Linked DNA regions of Homo sapiens: regions 1, 3, 4 and 5 are each linked to region 2. Evidence: promoter capture Hi-C in 16 types of primary human blood cells and fetal thymus (Javierre and others, 2016). All regions are on one chromosome and are shown on one strand. The core of a region is centred on a gene start or on the middle of the fragment in contact, and the rest is flanking DNA. Distances in the headings are between cores, read along the strand shown.

The links. Contacts are between HindIII fragments. The CHiCAGO score rates a contact against its expected background, and 5 or more counts as called.
Region 1: a contact is called between a fragment that was not itself captured here and the fragment with the promoter of TLR6 in region 2, in 1 of 17 cell types (monocytes). The highest score is 6.0, in monocytes.
Region 3: a contact is called between a fragment that was not itself captured here and the fragment with the promoter of TLR6 in region 2, in 1 of 17 cell types (endothelial precursors). The highest score is 6.6, in endothelial precursors.
Region 4: a fragment that was not itself captured here is called in contact with the fragment with the promoter of TLR6 in region 2 in 1 of 17 cell types (naive CD8 T cells); the score reaches 5.1 in naive CD8 T cells.
Region 5: a contact is called between a fragment that was not itself captured here and the fragment with the promoter of TLR6 in region 2, in 2 of 17 cell types (naive CD4 T cells and total CD4 T cells). The highest score is 6.1, in naive CD4 T cells.

The regions. Positions count from the first base shown.
Region 1 is chr4:38,165,396-38,168,122 of GRCh38, reverse strand. No RefSeq gene overlaps it. Among named protein-coding and RNA genes, the nearest start is that of LINC02513, 200 kb to the left of the region's middle. The HindIII fragment of the contact is 5,693 bases long and covers 1-2,727 here.
Region 2 is chr4:38,855,483-38,858,182 of GRCh38, reverse strand. It overlaps TLR6 (toll like receptor 6), which reads left to right and starts at 1,366. Exons shown (of 2, transcript NM_006068.5): 1 at 1,366-1,422. RefSeq lists an enhancer at 1-917. The HindIII fragment of the contact is 10,488 bases long and covers 1-1,895 here.
Region 3 is chr4:38,085,005-38,087,772 of GRCh38, reverse strand. All of the region lies in intron 14 of TBC1D1 (TBC1 domain family member 1), which reads right to left. Among named protein-coding and RNA genes, the nearest start is that of PTTG2, 130 kb to the right of the region's middle. The HindIII fragment of the contact is 1,467 bases long and covers 683-2,149 here.
Region 4 is chr4:38,143,271-38,145,970 of GRCh38, reverse strand. No RefSeq gene overlaps it. Among named protein-coding and RNA genes, the nearest start is that of PTTG2, 180 kb to the right of the region's middle. The HindIII fragment of the contact is 733 bases long and covers 908-1,640 here.
Region 5 is chr4:38,119,395-38,122,094 of GRCh38, reverse strand. All of the region lies in intron 19 of TBC1D1 (TBC1 domain family member 1), which reads right to left. Among named protein-coding and RNA genes, the nearest start is that of PTTG2, 160 kb to the right of the region's middle. The HindIII fragment of the contact is 2,340 bases long and covers 143-2,482 here.

The DNA of each region.
Region 1 (2,727 bases), core at 226-2,725, 690 kb after region 2:
AGGTGGCCATTGGTAAATAATTTCTACTGCAGCAGTTAATGGAAATGCAGTTTTCATTACAGTAAGGAAATTGAAATCTCAGCTGGCCTCTGTGGGTTCCATCCAACCTATCCTTCGTTGCTCATAAGATTGTGTGTTGTTTTCATTCCCCTCGTGATTAACCTCTGTCAGGAAGGGTAGGGGGAACTGGGTGATTGAAATCCCCAGGAAATCTCCACGTCGTGCTGCCAGTTTAACAATCTTCCGCAACCATCCTGACACCAGGGCTCTGAACAAGTAGGAAGGAGACTGTTTTTAATTTGAGGTAGAGATATTATCTAGTGGGGAAGGTTCTGGATGGCCAGCCTGAATTGAAGGGGTGATAGACATGCGGCCAATATGGAAGGGGAAAGAGAAAAATGAGAGAAGGTGGTGGCATCGAGGGACCCATGTCATTAAAATTTTCTCAAATGTATTGGACAACTTTCTTTGGGTGAGAGATTTGGGCCATCAATACTGTTAATGCCTCTTGCTACGGTTTAAGTGCCTGTGTTCCCCCCAGATTCATGTGTTGGAATCCTAACCCCCAAGGTGATGGTCTTAGGAGGTGGGGCTTTTGGGTGGTGATTAGATCATGACAGTAGAGTCCTCATGAATGGGGTTAGTGTTCTTATGAAAGAGATCCCAGAGAGGTCCTCACCCTTTCTATCACGTGAGGACACAGAAAGAAGAGGCCATCTATGAACCAAGAAGCCAGACCTCAAATCTGCCAGCCTTGATCTTGGACTCCCCAGCCTCCAGAAGTGTAAGAAATAAATTTCTGTTGTCCGTGAGCTACCCAGTCTATGAGATTTTGTTATGACAACCTCAATGTAAGACACCTCCCTACATAAAATATGTTTTCAACTCAATACACTTGGCTCTCTGAATTGCAATAATTTGTGGCTGTGCAAATTTTGTCTCTTGTTAGAGAAAAGTTCATTGAACAGGAACCGTGAAGACTTGTTCCTTCAGATTCTCCTTTTCTTTTATTTCTGGGTCATGTCTCAGCTCCTAATCTCTCAGAGGCCCCTCACTTCCTTTCCTGTCACTGCCAGCTTCTTCCTTGCAGATTTTATTTTTGCACCACCCACTCAACGGAGGAGGCAAGGAGCTAATAGATTTGAGAACATCTGCTGAGCCACATAAATCAAGGCGTTCAATCTTATAATTTTGTTGAGAAAGCAGAAGAGCAATAAACATCTTTATTTGGCAGAGGCCCACCCTGCTTACAGCTTAAGGTTTTATCTCTTCCCTGTTTTTTTCTGTCACTGCTCATCTTATGACTGAATGGTTTCTGGCTGCCATTTTGTTAGCCCAGAACTGAAACTGTATCTACCATGTGCAAGTAATTTATAGAAGGAAGACTATGGTAAAATCAGGAAGGAGGGAAAGTTTGAGTTTAGCAGACAGCCAGGATTAAAGGCTTCCCAAAGACCCCTGTACTCTGGCGTGTTTCAGGCGCAATCAGTTCAACAGGGAGTGGCGTTGAGGAGATCCATCTAAGCCATCCTGGAGAGCTAAGTATCTTTTCTGTCTGATTGCCCAAGGCATTCACAGAAAAAGAATTGCCATATCCTTCATTTATTCATTCATGCATCCCCAAATTCTTCTTGTTCAATCGCTCTTTTGGAGGCTACCTCTTTTTGCCATGAATGACAGAAGTTCATGGGCACGGGAACTAAATTCATCTAAGTCTCTCAAAAGACAAGCTACCAACTTGCAAGTCAACTAGGATTCGAGGTCAACAACCACTTCCCTCGTGAGTCAGTTGGGTTCAAGTTCCTCTTTAAGCCTAGAAGTTGCTCTGCTCCTACGCTTACCCTTTCACCTTGCTTCATTTCCATCTGCATTTCAGGGAGACATTTAAGCCTGCGGATGGCAGCACCAACTAGGAGACCAGAGAGCCTGACTTTCCTCACCTTCTCCTTTTGCCTGTCAAAATCGGCAAGACCACATAATGCTCCTCTCAGGCTCTAAAGAGGGAGCTGATTCCTGCCCATGGGCTTCCTGGGGAAAGGCAGGCCAGCAGTGCCAAAGGACAGATACCAGGCTGAGGAAGGAAAGAATTATATCACAGACTTTAGGGCTATGAGGAATCCTAGAGGTCATCATCCATCCCTGCACTGACAGATGGGAGTACCATGGTCAAGGACACATGCACACCTGTGGCAGAGCCAGATCTGGAAACTAGACTACTGGCTCCCAGTCCAGGGCTCTCTCCAGTGTGCCCAGTGTGCCCAAAGAGATGCTGGACTGATTGGTACCGAAGGACATTCATCAAATGCCAGAGTCCTTAATATCCCATGAAGACACCAAATAGACATAAATGTGGAACAATTGACAGAGAGAGGCAGGAACCTCTTTTTATTTATAGCCATTGGGTGCCCCTATTGGCCTATTCATGATGGAGGGGAGTTGAAGGGATCTGCAAGAGAGGAAGGGAGCAGAAGAAGCAAGACAAGAAGAACAGAGCATGGTGACCGGGAAAGTCAGTTATGGGACCAGCCTTCCCGTGTCCACATCCCAGCCCTCACACTTACTTAGGTGGGTTGCTTACACTTTCTGTGCCTCAGTTTGTTCATTGTAAAGTGGAGATAATACAACTATCTACTCAAAAGGTAAGGATTGAGTAAATTATTTCATGGAAAGCATTTAGCACAGTACCAGACTCACAGCCATTGTTCATATTACCAGGGAAGAGAAGCA
Region 2 (2,700 bases), core at 117-2,616:
TTCTTTGTTTGCTTAACTGTCATTGCCATCTTCGCTATTACTTGATTTTTGTGTTTTTGTCATCCCCTTACAGACGTTTCTGAGTTATGACAGCCTCGACAAGAATAGTCTCCTTGTTTCTGAACATTGGTGTTGTGATGCAATCTCCTAATGAGACATGTCAATGTGCCCAGATCTGCAGTGATAGTTGTCTGTTTTCTTAAGACTTTAGTCCACGGTTACTTGAAATTCCCTCAGAGCCACAGCCAGCCCTTTCCCTTGGCTTGTTTCACAAATCTGGTTTTCCAGGGTCACAGATACCTGCTGCTTTCTGGCTGTCTCCTTTTGCCAGTGGAGCAGAGATCCATCCACTCCTTACTGAGCCTCCCCAGGCCTGAGGAGACTTCCTGTTATGTTTGATGAGTAAGGATGAATCACAAGAAGCCAGCCTTTCTCTTCCTCCTGAAAGCAGAAGTGATTCTTACGGAGATGTCCAACTTTGTCATTAGCCAAATTGTAAGGTCTTAACTTGTTGTTGTTTTTTTTTTAATAAAGATGAGATTGTGCCAGACAGTGAGATAAATTATAGAATGATTGTTTCACTCATGCCTTCTGTCCTTTGCAGAACTCAGTTAAGCAAGAAGTCTGGGGAAAAGGGTTTACTGTCCACCAGAAGTCTCTGTTTAACCAGAGACTTCTGGTAATCAGCCTTTGTTGATGTCATTCTGAAATTCTTCTAAATGGTCTTTAGAAAATTGATTTTTAAATTAGTCTTGCAGGATTTCAGTGTTATTTATTATTCCTAAATTAAAATCTAAACCATTTAATAACACCAAATGTTGATCAGAATGTGGGTATGATTGCTCGTACATATGGCTAAATATGTAGTCATAAATATGTATCAACCAGTAAACTTTCCTTAGAAGTTGATTTTTAAAAAAAAACCCAAATTGTGGAACTATACTTATTTTATTTTAAACTATCTCATCCAGCTAAAATAATGCTCAAAATTGCTTGATAAGGGAAACTGCAATTATTCTTGAAATGTTAAATATGGTGATAATAGAAAACAGGCTGTTTAAAATAACTTTCCACTCAGGTGACAAATGTAATAACCAGGCTGCAAACTCTTACAGAGAAATATTACCTTAGAAAAATATTTTTCTTCACATTGAATTGTTTGTAAGTTGCTTCCTCACACGAATTAGAAAATTGGATTACTGGTTTTGTCTGTAGCCCAGAAAAAACTGCTAACTCACCTCCGGACCTTTGAAAGGTAAAAATATACGTAGGAGTAATTCCAGTGTGGGCCAACAGATGGCACCAATCTGTTTCTAAGGTACCGCTTTACTCAACTTTAAGAACTTGTGTTTGTCAAGCATTTTCAATTGTATTTCCGTTCATTTACAAGTTATTTTCTCTTCTTCTGAAAAAGAGATCTTGGTAAGTAGAAAGACTTCTGTGGCTTTTTCACATTATGGCACAGGTGCTTCAAGTAAGCAAGTTTGCTAACCATTCATTATATAGGAAATAGGTAATGTTTCCTTGAAATTTTTGCAAAATGATTTGAAGTGGTTTTTTTTGTAGATGTTGCAAATGTCCTTTGAATTTCACGAGCAGGATGAAGAGCAGCGTCTTTACAGCTGTCTTGAAAAGATAGAAAACAACTAGCGCTTGTGGTGATAATTAAGGAACAAAACTAATGTTATTTATTTCTTCTGATTTGGCCCAGCGAATTTTCTCTTTTCGTCTTTCTCTAGTTTATTGTTTTCAGTAACATTTAACAGTAATTTTTATATACCACTGATATGGCACCTATTTATTATATGTTTTTACAGCAGACGTGTGTTTGATCTCCCTTGTCGTTTGTCACTGTAACAGTTTGCTGGTCTGTGTCTGTCCCTAATTCATAAGCTTTTTGAAAGCAGGAATTATGTCAGTCCTATTCATATTTATATCCCTGGTGCCTAGTGCGTAGCATGGCACTGGCAGAAAAATAGACTCTGAATAAACATTTATTAAATGGAGGAAGTGGCCGGGACCAAGCCCCTTCACAAGCTTGAATCTGGCACAGTGTAGCAATTGCCTTCCTCCAGGTCCTTCCACCTTCAGTTTGACAAATGAAACAATGTTTTTCTTGCCTATTTGTTAACTTGATTATGTGATCTTTCCTCCACTTATTTCACTTAATTTTTTTTCTGCTCTCTTCTTCCTTGTAGTTTTAATTTTCATAGGTCTTGTCTACCCTTTTTTTCTGAAATGTAGCTTATTTCATCTATTTCCTCACCCTTTTTATTTGATGCATTTAAAAAATCAAGAGCATTTACCTGTTTATTTTTACTTTCTTTAAAAAACTGTGAACTCTCTAATCTTCCACTCTCATCTTCCCATTTTTCCCTCCTTTTTTCCCAATAAATAGAAAAGTTACTATCTTGTTCATTTAGTGTATTCCCTAGGAACTGCCTCAGGGTATGAACGCCTCTGGAGGAATATTGCGTTTTTGTGGCAGGATACCATAAGGACAGCTGACCAGCTTTTCCACCTGGTGACTGATTTTCAGTCCCATGAACCCAGACACCGTGGGTCTGGTTGCCGGGGACCTGTAGGGTAGGTCCTCATCTGTGAATGCCAGTTATCTACTATTATCTGAAAGTTCTCCATCTTTATATTTTAATATTCCAAATAAAACAAGCACGTTTCTTTAAATATAAAATATTTTCA
Region 3 (2,768 bases), core at 167-2,666, 770 kb after region 2:
CCAAGTTCAAGCGATTCTCCTGCCTCAGACTCCCGAGTGAGTAGTTGGAATTACAGGCATGCGCCACCATGCCCTGCTAATTTCTGTATTTTCAGTTGAGACGGGGTTTCACCATGTTGGCCAGACTGGTCTCGAACTCCTGACCTCAGGTGATCTGCCCACCTCGGCCTCCCAAAGTGCTAGAATTACAGGTGTGAGCCACCATGTCCAGCTGACTTGGATATTCTTAAACCCTACTAGTAAAACAAGGGCTCACCTCACCTAAACTCCTTCTTCTAATCTCATCCTTCCTGTTTACCACAGCCTTCCTCTTCCCAGGGTCTTGAAAATTCCTACTGTGTTCCTTTCAAATTCGGAATCACAATGAGCAGGTGTAACTCAGGCCAGGAGGATGGAACATTCCTAACAGTAGAGGCTGTTTGTCCCCAGATCCATGTACTCTCTGCCACTTGGGCTACTGACAAGGACCACTGTCTATAGAAGTTTATGAAACTCCGGTTTTATTTTAGTATTCAGAGAAACTGGATCTGCAAAAATACAAGTATTGTTTGGGGACGACAACTGTGAGATTTAAGACCTAAGCTGTCTCCCTAATGTTTTCTACTTTTGTGATCTTTTTCTTATTATCACTAGTGACAGTTTGTTGAGCTTTTACCATATGGGTTCTTGGCATAAATAAGCTTGTTTGATTCTTACAACAATCTCATAGGACAGGTGATATTATGATCTCCATTTTCCAGCTAAAACAAATAAGGTGCAGTGAGGTTTTATAACTTGGCCAAGGTCACACAGCTAGTAAGGGTCAGAGCCATAATAAGAAAAAAGGTGTATTTTCCTCCAAAGTAAAAAAAAGAAGAGTTTACCCCGTGCTTCTCTAACTTCTACATGCACAAGCCTCACTGGGGATCTTGCTAAATTAAAGATTTTGATTCAGCAAGTCTGAGGGGAGCATTTCCATCAAGCTCCCCAGTAATGCCTCCACTGCTGTTTCTCCAAGCACACTCTGAATAGCAGGGCTCCACGCTGCAGCTTTACTCTCTATTTCCTCATGCAACCCTATGCGCTTGCTAGCACGTCGGCTCATCTCCTTCACTCCCACCACTGAAAACACAGTTCAAATACTGTTGTTAGCTGCCTGAATTCAGGTCCTCAACACATGGCAGGAGCTTGTCCCAAATTTGGTCGGGGGATCCAGGCCAAGTCCAGAATACAAAGACATATTTGAGCACTAGTATTAATTTCACCTCTACATGAACTAAATAAAAGCTGATCCACTGTAAAGGTCAGCAAATAAACCCAAGAGTTTAAAGGAGGGTTTCTCAACCTCAGCACTACTGACATTTTGGGGCTGGATGATTCTTTGTCAGGAGGAACAGTTTTATACACTGTAGAATGTTTAGCAGAGGGCATAGTAGCATCTGCCCACCATCAATGCCTCTAGGCATTGCTAAATATCCCCTAGGGGTCAGGAGGAACAAAACCACCTCTAATAAGAACCTCTGATTCAGAGCTAAAATCTCACCATTTCGTCTCTCCTAAACCCTGGGAAGGGGCAAAAACGTATCTCTTTTATCCAAATTCATTTCACGTGGTAACAATTACTGATTTTTTTATAGTTTACGATTAACAACAAATTTGTATAATATTTTTTGTTCATATTAAGAGTAGCCTGGCTACAAAATAGCTCAGTAATTTATAAAGGGAGATAGTTAAAAATCTTTGTTCTAAATTTGGCCTGCTGAATCAGTCCAAAGAAAGTAAGCTGCTTTCTCAACAATGCAAAAAGATCCAGACTGGGCACAAGGCTTTGGTTTGTAATCAGTCCTCCTTCAGGCGTGTGCAGTCTTGAGAGATGTGGACTCGAGTGGAGTGGCAGGTCAAGGAGAACAAAATCAAAGTCTGAGGCAACTGTCAGCTAAGAACCTTGTTCTAATGATAAACCGGGGCACTGTTTTCACTTGCATCATTCCTAAGCCAATCCTACCAGCATTGAGTCCCTTACATGTATGCAGCGATGCAATGCGTTAGGTGGTCTAAGGAGGGCTACTCTGAGGTTTCTACTCTCTAGAACAATCCCAGGGATCCGGCTTCTCTCCCCGACTTGCATTCTTGCTGAGAGACAGCTGCACAGAGGCCAGTGTAGGAAGCTTGGCTTGGCTCAGTGCAGCGGAGGCTGAGCCGAAGGAGGGGCTGCTCTACCTCATGGGCCAACTGTGTTGGTGCCTCTTGGGAAAACATATGCCTTCTGGGTTCCAGTCCCCCAGTGTAAAATGTGAGAAATGATATTCACCGCCGACTGCCCAACTGTAGAGACCACAGGCACTGACAGGCATATTTATAAAGTCGGCAAAGCCACCAAACCAAAGGGCTGCGATAACAACTTAGTCCAGGATTAGATTTTACTATTCTGACATCTCCTATAATGACGGATGTGGAGCACTTAAATTATGTAGCCTTTCAGAAACAATAGCCTCCAATGGGTTCTAAGAATTTTAAAACCAGTCATAATTCAGGAGGCCTTGGAGACAACTGCCTCCTATTAAATCATTGCTGTGACACTCCCAACAGAGTCATAAATATGATCTATGCTGGTATGTCGATATTTTAGATGCCAAATTATTCCCCAACAACTCTGTGCTGTTGCATTCTTTCTATCTGCACACAAATGTGTGGGGAAGAGGATGACATTGCATCATTGTTATGAACAGAATCAATGCCATGATCGAGAAAGACAAAAAGCAACGTGCACACCACCTCCTATCTGCCCA
Region 4 (2,700 bases), core at 25-2,524, 710 kb after region 2:
CAGAGATAAGCAAGTGACGTGATCTGCCAAGTATGAGGTCTTCATCGCAATGGGAAAGCGAGAATAAAACAGAACTATAGATCAAGAATAAACAGACTCTGTCTTCAGTCACTGCTGTTGCTAATGAGATGTCTCTGATTCTGTACTTGTCCAGTGGGATTCCCCCTTCTATGTGAGTGGTTCTTAAACTTTAGCACACATCAGAATCCCATGGAAGGCTTGTGAAAAAAGATTGCTGACCCCACCCTCCAGAATTTTTGAATTAGTAGGTTGGTAGATCCCATTAATACAATTCTAACAAGTTTCAGAAGATGCTGAGGCTATTGGTCTAGGGCCTATACCCTGAGACCCACTGCCCTATACACACATTTAGAACCTGACATTCAAAAGTGCATCTTGCTTGAATCAGGTCATCTGGCCAGCTTGTCAACATCAATCAAGGTCCTGTCTGTCATTCATTGCATTTAGTCAGTGGCATCCGTGCATCCAAGAGCATGGTCCCTAGGGCCTCATACAGATCACATGACACACATGTGCACCGGCTGGCTAAGGAAAAACCCTCAGTGAGACTCCTCCTTTTTAGGCTCACCACAATCCATTATCCATCACAGCATTTTTCAATCCTAGCTAAACTTTAAATTCACTGGGGAGCTTAAAAACTAAAAACCGCCCAGGCCCTACCCCAGAGTGCATGAGTGTGTTAGCCTGGAGCACCCTTGGGCCCTGGTACTTTGAAAAATCTCTCTGGGTGATTCTATTGTGCAACCAGGGCTGAGAACCACAACCTAGAAGTCTTTCTGGTTTTATTAAATCAACACAATCGAACTCTCCTACTGCTCATGTCACTTTAACTCATTTAAGTTTTAATAAGACTTTATTTAAGGTATTGTGAGAGATGTCAAAAGCTTTGCTGACATCAAGGTATATTTTCCTACAGCTTCCCATCTTCCATTTGGTCACTGTGCTTTCAGAAACATAAAATTACATTGGGCTAGCATGACATGATCTTAAGGAATCACCTATCTTATATGTTTGCACTGTTGAGGAATTTTGCCTGGGTCCAATCTCAAGCTCACATAACTGATTTAGTTCACGTCATCATAAGTAATGATAACATTTATTGCTTGTTAATTTGGTGTCCACCACAGTACTCAGTGCTTGTCATAAATATTTGCACAATAATCCTATGAAATAGCTGTTATTTCCATTATACAGACAAGAAATCAGGGTCGGATTCCAGCTGACTCCAGGGCCTGCGCTTTTAGCCATGAGATGTCGCTTCTATTTATATTTACCTGGCTCCATCTTGTTCCTCAAATGTTTTACAGTGATTTACAAGGATATTAAAGATTTAAGAAAGCATGAAATAACTGGAATAAAGTAGAATCGGAGAGGGTCAAAATGAGTCAGAACCAAATGCCTGCACATTTGCTAATGGGAGGGCCACCAATTTGGTTTTGAGTGTTCCGGAAATGTCAAATTAAAATAGGGTCACCTGTTCAATTACACAGTTGACATCGGATTAAAAACAAACATTATTTGGGAGAAATACCTGAACAGTTCTGGGGCTTTCTTAGAGAAGGCACTGAGAATTAAAGGGAGGACTGCAAGAATATCCTCATGATCCATGCAGACAAGCTTTTCACTGGGCTCAACGAACCATAACTTACATCATCCACTTCCTACCTCATTAAATAAAGTGGGAAGTTTGGCTAGCTCTATATTTCTTCAAAGATCTCTGTCTTCCCATTTCCAGTGCCTCTTTCCACCATTGTCAACTCATTCCAAAAAAATACTAATAGCAGTTGAGCAATTTTTTTTTGCTCAAATTTTCTCAGTACCCTGGAATGCAATTTGAACAGTCAGGATTTACTTTTGTAGAATTTCACAAAAGTCTCTTTTAGGCTGTCATGCCATGAAATCACACCTAATTTTTTCCTGAACTTTAACGAATGTCTTCCCGATGCCTAGGTTCCCTTTGCAGATGATCACAGCAGGAAGTTGATAGGGCTGTGTCCACTGGCTGTCAGATCTGTAGGGGACATCATCATAAACTGAGATAACAAGGTCACCCCCTGCCAGGTGCCCACTACAATGTCCATTTCACCAACTCATTCCTCCTCGCAGTTTAATGCTAAGTTAAGAATAGCAGATTCCCTTGTGTCCATTAAAACTGTAAGTGGATCAAGCCAAGAACTTATTTATACTTATTGGACTACACAGTAATGGAACATTTATCTCTAAAAATATTGGTGTTTTCTTGCCATCTGAAAGAGACATGGTGTTAAGTGGGTGCTAAGTGGGTTAGTTTGTTTGGGCTACTCAGACTGGATAATTTATAAACAACAGTTCTAGAAGCTGGGAAGTCCAAAATCAAGGCACCAGCAGATGTGGCGTCTGGTGAGGGACTGTTCCTCATAGACGGACGGCGCCTTCTTGCTGTGTCTTCACATCTCCAGCTTCTAAGTGCACTGATCCCATTCATGAGCGTAGAGCCCTCATGACTTAATCATTTCCCAAATGCTTTGCCTCTTAATTCTATCACATTGGATATTATATTTGAACACATGAATGGAGGGGGGATGGGGCAACATCAACATTCAGACCACAGCAGTGGGTGTGTGTTTTTTTTAAGGTCTTGGCACAAGACTCAAAGCTAGGATAGAATCATTTGTCATTTGGAAGAGACTCTTCCACTTT
Region 5 (2,700 bases), core at 63-2,562, 740 kb after region 2:
GCGTCCAACCCTCCAAGGCCGGAGAAAGTTCAGCCCCAGAAGCTTCTGTGAGACACAGGGGGTCTTAAATCGGGAGATCATTTGGGTGCACAATGCAGGAATGTGCTTGAATTCAGAGTTGAAGGAAGGACTGCAGGAAGCTTTGCTTGGGAGGAAGGGCCTCCTAAATTTGTCTGATGACACTTGGGGACAACATCTTCATCCTTTAAAGCATTTGTACCGTTTTTTGGCTTTGGAAATTTTTTTAAATCACATCTAATTTTAAAACAATAGTAAAGAAAAATGTTACCTATAAACCCACTGCCCCAAACCAATTATTTTTATTTTGCCTGTCTTCCGGTATCTTATACATTTACATTCTGGAATTTTTTAAAACAAAACAAAACAAAACAAAACAAAAAAACAATAACTCTCCTTGGAAAAGTGAGCAAATGTCCTGCATTTGAAAACCTCCCTAGGAGACAGTGAACTGTTGGAGCCGCCCAGCGCAGTGAGGCAGTAGCCTAGCTCACTACACTGTAGCCCACGTCCTTTCAGTGGGACTTTTCTCCTGCCTCTTCCTTCTCTCCTCTCCTTTTTCAAGCCACCTAGAAACAGGCAAGACGTTTTATCCGGCAGGAAATAGGAATCTTAAATTCAGCTGACTCTATTACTTTGCACTGTATTCGCTGGGAACAACACAAAGGAACTGCTTTTCTTTGAGGACATTTCAGCAACCCTCTTATTGCGTTACTGTGTATTGGAACTCTATTTGAAACTAAACTTCATGATCTCAAAGTGCAATCTTCCTATGTGAGCTTGCACTGCATCTCTTTTTCCAGCCACCTTTGTCTTTGTCAAGGCTGAGCCTTCTCAACTTTCTTCTGGAAGGCTGCGGTCCTCCAGTCGTGGCTCCGCTACATTCTATGAGTAACGGGTAAAGGGGACGCTGAAGGCTGATGACAGTGCTGTGCAGAACAACAGCACAGACAGACTGGACACACTCATCATCACGCGGCATCATGTCACCTGAATAGCTGGAGATTTTCCTGGCCACAGAAACAATCTTGTTTTCAGTCTATTTTCATCCTAAAGTCTCTCTGAAGCCTTCACTATATTGCAGGTGGCTTCTGTGTTTTTTGCCAAACCCTTAGTTTTTATACTCCTCCTCCTCCCTCATCTATTTGGCAGCATGTCCTATAGAAAAACATCAGAGGCTGAACACTGCAGCCTCCTCCTCCATCAGGAGCAAGCCAGGTCCTGTTTTTTAGATTTTTCTTCCCCCAAAGGTAGATGTGATGAGAAAGTGAACAGAGCAAGCGTCTCTCCCAGGGCCCTGCTGTACTCAAGCTAGAAAAATACAGGAAGGGGCTATTGACATTATGTGACACCAGGTAGAAGAACTGCCATTCAGCAAGGTGTGAGTATCATGTGAAGGTTAAGGCGCACACATCACTGGCAGCCGCCCCTCCAAGGAGCAGATACATACTTAATGCCAGGTAACCTATTAACTAATATATGAGCTAAGGTGGTGCAAACTGAAATATTTTACTTAGTCAACAAAGTTCTACATGTTTTTAGAGTTTATCCAGACTTAAAGGCTTATAATGAAATGGGCCCTAGGCCAAAAAAGACTATAGTGACTGAATGGCAGGCTTTGAAATATAAAACTAAGCTATCTCCATCACCATTCTCTAAGTCATCAGTGCTAAAAATAGAAATGGTTTGTAAAAACCTATCTTTTCTGTTTTTAAGTACTGAAAGATGGGATGGACTGTGGAAAAAAAAGCAGTTCTTGCAAAGTGACATCACAAGCCAGTGCGGCCTTGAGATCCCACTTCCCGCCTCTAATCCCAGGAGCCCTTGGCCAGCTGGACAACGACCCACTTAGCACAGCAGGAGTCTGTGGGATCCAGGAATGATGTAGACACTGGCATCTCTATGCATAATGTTTATGAAACTCCGAGTCTCACCACTGCCTACAAAGTCTACAGAAAAATATCTTACCTTTACAAGCTGCAGCTTTGATTTATGAAGTCATTAGAGTGAGCTTCAGAGAGCTTCAAATTACTCTGCAATAGAAGGGCTATCATTTCCAAAGTGGAGTCTGCTTGTTTGTTAACGTCTTTTTACCCATTTATGAGCCGAAGGAAAAATTTCTCTTCCAGAGCCCCAGAACTTTCTGCAAGCAGCAGCTCCAGTGCCTGGGGCCCCAGGGCAGAGATGACTCAGTGATGACCCCTCAGCCCTCCAGTCTGTGGTCAGCCTGGTTGCCTTGGTAGAATTTTCTTCACTAACCAAGTAATTTAATGCCTGAGCTGTTTACAAACCATTAACAAACAGCGCTCCCTCCTCCCCATTTCCATCCTCACTCCTCTTCATGACCCTGTATGAAAATCATAGCTAAAATGTGGAGAAAATGTAAGGAAGGTAGATTAATAATTTTCTTTTAATTTCCAGTGTTAGAGAAGTCAAAAACATAGAAGTTATTGGCAAGAAAGCTTAAAGCCTAGAGCTTGAGATTTTAGTTTCTGTAACTCTTTTGTTAATAAACTAAGCACACAATTTTGAGGCTTTTAGTTAATCTTTTTTTTTTTTTAACCATGGTATAAACCTTCATGAACTCTCACTAAAGATATGCTCAACCAGGAGATAGCTTTTTGTATCTATTTTAATTTAGTGATTTTATTTTTTCAGGGACAGAAAAGAAGGAATATGAAT